Regions from separate parts of the Homo sapiens genome. Here region 1 is linked to region 2. Evidence: promoter capture Hi-C in 16 types of primary human blood cells and fetal thymus (Javierre and others, 2016). All regions are on one chromosome and are shown on one strand. The core of a region is centred on a gene start or on the middle of the fragment in contact, and the rest is flanking DNA. Distances in the headings are between cores, read along the strand shown. Region 1 has its middle 46 kb from the start of NOG. Region 2 holds the start of NOG (noggin).

Region 1 (2,737 bases), core at 92-2,591, 46 kb before region 2:
ATAAGTCAGCTATGGTCTCTGTCCTCATGAAGCTTACAATCAATTAAAAGCAAAATGAATGTTTTTCCTTTCTTCTGTCCCCCCTTTCCTTCCTCCCATCTGCCCTCCATCCTGTTTCCTCCCCCTCTCTCCTTTCCTTTTTCACCTCTGGTTTTGGGAAAGAATTGATCCCACACCAAGGTTGGGGGAAAAGCCAAAGTTGTGGGAGGCCTAGCTTCGCATAGAGAGAGATTTGCTGTGGTGGAGAGTGCAGTGGCCAGTAGCCGGAGTAAGACCTCGTGATGAAAATTAAGTCCTTGTTTGAACCACTGCGAGAAGCCAGCAGGGGTCCCTAAGATCTAGCTCCAGGCCTCTCTATGTATTGCCTCTCTGGGATTGGCCTGACCCATGGGTGGGGCAGGTAAATGCCTTATCTCTTCTGTCCCCAGCACCCCTCCTCATCTACTCTTTGATGCCTAAAGGGCCAACAAGTGAAGTGTATTTCTTGAGCTTAAAGCTTTGATCTCTGTGAAAATGAAAATCCCTGTGGGAGGGTCACAGTTTAAACTGGTACTGATTATTCACACTTGGTTGTGAATGAATATCACTTTTTGTTCCCCAATGGAATTAAATCAACAGGTATTTACAAGCCTGCTTGAGATCAGATTAGGTAGGCAATGGCATATTTGGAGAGAGCCCTAGATGGGGACACAGGTATGTTGGGGATGGTCCCTGCCAGACCACCTATGAGCTCCTAAGCCTTGTGCAGTCCCTCTGGGCTTCTGGGACTGGATGATCTGCAAGGTGGCTCCTAGGCTCTGAAGTGGATATGGAGGGAGTCACCGAGGGCCTGCTTCACGGGCATCCTCCTGAGCAGCTACACAGGGCTCTGTGCTTGGTTAATGTTCTCCTGTCACCATCCTGAATAGAATAGTTTTTGAACATGAGGCCCCACATTTTCATTTGGCATTATGCCAGGAAATGATGTAGCCAGTCTTGGTGGCAGCGGTGGTGGTGGTGACTCGGGAAAGGGGTCTCAAAGACAAATACTGCTCACTTTAGCCGCTTGCCCTCAGTGGCTGCTGCTCCCCATCCTCCACAGTCCAGCCTAGGACTCACCTCCTTGGGAAAGCCATTTCCAGATAAACTCACCTGCCGGGAATGCTCAATTCCTCCCTGGCAAGTAGATAGATAACAGGCTTGGCTTGGTGAATCTTTTGCTTGTTTGTGATGCTCAGGGGAAATATTGGGTGGTTTTAAGTGCGTGCCCCCATTTCCCTGCTAGCGGCTCTTGGGGTGCTCCCCACCTTCTCTGGATGCCCTGCTGCACGGTAGAAAAAAATTCTTTGGAATCACATAGTCCTGGGTTTGAGTTCAGACTTCACTTTTTACAAGCTGTGTGATGAAGGGAAGATGGCACCCCCTTGGAAGCTGCCACCTGCCCTCCTGGATTACTGTGAGGATGGAGAGATGTGTATGTATAGCACTCAGCACATAGTAGGCGCTAAATAAATAAAGGGGTCTTAAACTCTCAGAGTCTCACTTACTTGCCTATAAAGTGGAGAAATCACTCCTACCTCTAGGCCGAAGGCTCAAGGCCATTTAAAATCATTATCAACTAAAAATACCCAGATCCTAGTGCAGTCTCCCCCTGCCCCCACCCCACCCTCTGGCAGGCAGAGAGCTGCGCCCAGCGGGAGTCCCGACAGCAGAGCGCTGCATCTCTAGGGTGATCGTGCCTTGCGAGTTTCTAGAGGCTGTTGAGCCCTTTGAGGTTTGAGTTACATTTTCACTTGGCAGAGTCTAGTTCTCTGATTCAAAGAGAAAAGCTGTCAGAGAGAGGGATAGGAAGAGAAGGGGGGTGTGTGTAAAAAAATAAAAAAGGCTCCCACAGCTTCTCGGACTTGGAATGGCTCTGTGGAGACCAGGCGGGATGCATGCAAATCAGAAACACATGCATGAGGCTTTCCTCCCAGCACATGCGGGCTCCGGAATGAAGGCGCCAAGCCCTTGACATGCTGGCTCAAGACTGGCCAGGCTTGGGCTGGATTGGGATGTGGAGTTGGAGCCTGCACCTGTGTCCTCTTGTCCTGTCCTGGTGAAAGGGGAGAAGATGGGAGCAGTGGCTGGTTCTATGCTCGACTCTTGGACTCTGAAAGGTCCTGAGGCCTTGAGACCTCCTAGATCAAGAGGCCAGGGAAAGCTTTGGGGGTAATATCTGGCAGCACAGGGCAGTGGAAAGAGCATGGGCTTTTAAGTCAGAAAAACATGAGTTAGCATCTTGGCCATGTCCCTTATTAGCTGTGTGACTTTGGGTAAGTTACTTAAGCTCTCTGTGCCAGAATCTTCTCAGCCAAAACTTGAGGACAATGATCACTGTCCCAACAGGCTTTGTGAGAATAAAACCAAAGTTTGCATTTTGTTTATTTATTTAATGGAAGATTGATTTGATCCCTTATACTTCTTTTCTTTCCAGACAGGAGACAAGACAGCTCTTTTAAAAAATGTAGTGTATTAAAGAAACCATGGCAAAAAGAAAAGAAGGGCTGAACAGAAATATGAAGCGAAGGCAGGGTTAGTACACAGGCATGCACAACTTGGAATCTTGCACAATTATTAAAGTTGTTTAGTAAATTTGTTTCTGAGCTTTTAGTTGGCCAGAATAAAGCAGAAGACATCATTGAGAAGATTCATGTTGTCTATTAAAAAAATGGCTTTGGCTGGGTGCAGTGGCTCATGCCTGTAATCCCAGCACTTT
Region 2 (3,164 bases), core at 573-3,072:
ATTTACAATGATTAGTCATTCCATTTGTTCTCTATATTTACAATAACTGTAAAATAACATTGAACTCTATAGCTTCTTCGAGGTCCAAGGAAAACCAAAACACTTTCCGAAGAATGGAAAATAGCTTTTAAAAAGTCCTCTACAAAAGTTCCCCCGTCTCTTTGTACTTCAAGAAAAAAATAACTTTTCCCCCCTGCTTCGCCATGCGAAGGGCACTGGAATATAAATAGCAGGTTAACATTATTAGCAACAACCAGAATAAGTCTCTCTTTTCTCTGTTCTTTTTTTTTTCTTTTGCTTACTTTTTTTTAAAAATACAGTAGAAGCCGGTAACTTTTAACGTATAATACTGACCTTTTAATAAGTAAATTAAAACTGGGACCGTATATACACACACATATACATTCCTACACAGTTAAACAGTGCATTACAGGAACCAGAAAGCTAGGTCTCTGTAGCCCAGAAAAAAAAAAAAAAAAAAAAAAAAAAGTTCATTGAAAACCCTCGCTAGAGGGTGGTGGAACTGGTTGGAGGCGGTGCAGGGGGCGTCGGTGGGGATCGATCAAGTGTCCGGGTGCGGGCAGGGGGCCCCCGAGTTCTAGCACGAGCACTTGCACTCGGAAATGATGGGGTACTGGATGGGAATCCAGCCGCAGCGCTGGCCCCCGCGCCGCTGACAGCGCCACCGCAGCACCGTGAGGTGCACGGACTTGGACGGCTTGCACACCATGCCCTCGGGCACGGAGCACGAGCGCTTACTGAAGCAGCTGCCCACCTTCACGTAGCGCGGCCAAAAGCGGCTGCCCAGGTCGTTCCACGCGTACAGCACGGGGCAGAATGTCTGCGACCACAGCCACATCTGTAACTTCCTCCGCAGCTTCTTGCTTAGGCGCTGCTTCTTGCCCTGGGCCAAGCCCTCGGAGAACTCTAGCCCTTTGATCTCGCTCGGCATGGCCCCCGACGGCCGCTGCCGCAGCAGCTGGTCCAGCTCCGCCAGGTCCTCCGCGCCCCCAGCTGCACCCCCGCCCCCGCCGGGCCGGTCCTCGGGGGGCGAGGTGGCCATGAAGCCTGGGTCGTAGTGGCCCCCGAGCAGCGAGCGCAGCAGCGTCTCGTTCAGATCCTTTTCCTTGGGGTCAAAGATAGGGTCTGGGTGTTCGATGAGGTCCACCAGGGGCAGGTTGTCGCTGGGTGCCGGGCGGATGTGGAGATAGTGCTGGCCGCCGGCCGGTGTCGCCCGCAGCCCCAGGACCACCACCAGGGCGTAGAGGGTGACCCCTAGGCTGGGGCAGCGCTCCATGCCTCTGGCGCGCGCCCGGGGCTGCTGCTTCGTCCCGCGTCCCCGGAGGAGAGCACGCCGAGCCCGCGGCGCCGCCGCGCTCCCCCGTCTCTCCGGAGGCGGCTCACCCGAGGCTGGGCAGGCGCAGGGCCGGCAGCATGAGCCGCCGGGAGAGCCCTTCGCGCAGCGCCGGCTCCCACCGGGGCGGAAGAAAGGCACACAAGTTGGCCGCAACTCCTCTCCCGGGTCTACTGGGGAAGGCGGCCGCGGCTGGGCATCCGAAATTACTCCAGGGCGACCGCGGGGCGCGGGAGGCGCCGGCTCCTCGCTGCCTTCCCGGGCCGGCGGCGGCGCAGGGCGCGTGGACGAGCCGCTCTCCCCTCCTCCTCTCGCTGCTCTTCGTCCGGCCGCTCTGTGCAAGCGCCGCTGGCTGAGCTGGTTCTAGGGGCACTTCCCTCCGCCTGCTCCGGGCTCCGCGGCCGGCTCTGCCCGGCGGACTCCAGCGGCGGCGGCGGCGGCGGCGTCCGCGCACGTTGGCACCGGTTTGTCTGTCTCGCAGGGTCCAAGCCTTTAAATTTCCTGCACTTTCAGCTCCATCACCATGGAAACCACTGACTCTCTCGGCGTTGCCCCCTCCCCCTTCTTCCCCCCAAACAACAACCCCACCCCCCACTTCTCCACCCCCGAGGAGCTGGAGCTGCACAGGCTCCGGGGGAAGCCGCCTGTACTCGCCGCGGAGGCGGCGGCGGCGGCTTCGGCAGCGCCCAGGGCTGTGCCCCGCCGGACCCAGATGCCCCGGGAAGCCGACAGTCCGGCTGCCCGCCGGAGCTCACAGGCGGCGGCGGCGGCGGCGGCAGCGGCGGTGGCGGCGGCGGTGGCGCTTGGCAGGTCTCCGCGCAATTTTCTCTCTCCCCCACCACCCACCCCCCTTCTCCTCCTCCTGCAAAATGCACCGCCCCCCTCCTTTCTCCTGGAGCAATGCAACTGGGGCTCTAGGCGCCCCGCCAGGGCCAGTCCTGGGGAAAGCTCGCGGCGGCGCTGGAGCCGGGCTGGAGGGTGCAGAGCCGGTGTTTGGGGAGGGGGGGCGGTGCTTGAGGTGGGGCTGGAGGGTTTCTCACTAGCTGGGTGCTTTGCACTGGGAGGGGAGCAGCGGGGAAGTGCTGGGGGCTCGTTTCTCGGTGCATGCAGTTCGGAGCAAGAAATTTCTCCATGTGCATGGAGCGTTTTCCCCGAGCGCGTCTTCTTCTCTCCCGGGCTCTTGCTCTAAGTCCCCTCCCCCCAACACACATATATACACACACACACACACACACACACACAGCCCCTACCCCACCCCCCTTTGCACCAGGGAGTCCGAGAGCCGCAGCGTTGCGCAGCGTGATGTAATTCTTAGGAAGCACTCCTGTCTGTCTGCCCCTCGGGCCCACGAGGGGGTTCCGCTCCTCACCATCCTCCTCCTCCTTGGCCGGGTCCTGCACCCTGAGTGGCCTAGCCTCAGGGGCGCGACTGGCTCGCCTGCGGCTCCCCTAGCCCGCCCGGCTCCGCGCGGCCGCCGCTCGGCTCCCTGGGGGCGGCGCGCCCTCTGCTGGCCCGCTATGAGCCCTGCACCTGGCGCTGGCGGGGGCGGCCGTGCGAGGTGGGTCGGCCGCTGCCCGCTCTGCCCAGTTCAGCTTCTGCTTCTGTGTCCCTGTCACTTTGTGTGTGTCTGCGTCTGCTGACTGGTCCGTTTTGGTTCTGGCTATTTTCCCGAAGGTCTCCAGGCCCCCAGTGTAAACAAACTTCCTGAGATTCCTTCTCGGTCCCCTCAAATTTCACAAGAATGCGTGCAGCACCTTCTGCCTCAGGTAAATCGGTCTCTGGTCTCAGTGGGTGCGAGTGGGGACCAGAA

The links. The method cuts DNA at HindIII sites, captures the fragments that hold promoters and counts their contacts. A CHiCAGO score of 5 or more calls a contact.
Region 1: a fragment that was not itself captured here is called in contact with the fragment with the promoter of NOG in region 2 in 3 of 17 cell types (naive CD4 T cells, non-activated CD4 T cells and naive CD8 T cells); the score reaches 8.1 in naive CD4 T cells.

What each region holds. Positions count from the first base shown.
Region 1 is chr17:56,637,931-56,640,667 of GRCh38, reverse strand. No RefSeq gene overlaps it. Among named protein-coding and RNA genes, the nearest start is that of NOG, 46 kb to the right of the region's middle. RefSeq lists enhancers at 1,490-1,990, 1,991-2,491. The HindIII fragment of the contact is 1,686 bases long and covers 499-2,184 here.
Region 2 is chr17:56,592,357-56,595,520 of GRCh38, reverse strand. NOG (noggin) reads right to left here and starts at 1,822. Exons shown (of 1, transcript NM_005450.6): 1 at 1-1,822. The coding sequence starts at 1,297. The coding sequence ends at 599. RefSeq lists a silencer at 2,760-2,969. The HindIII fragment of the contact is 13,259 bases long and covers 1-3,164 here.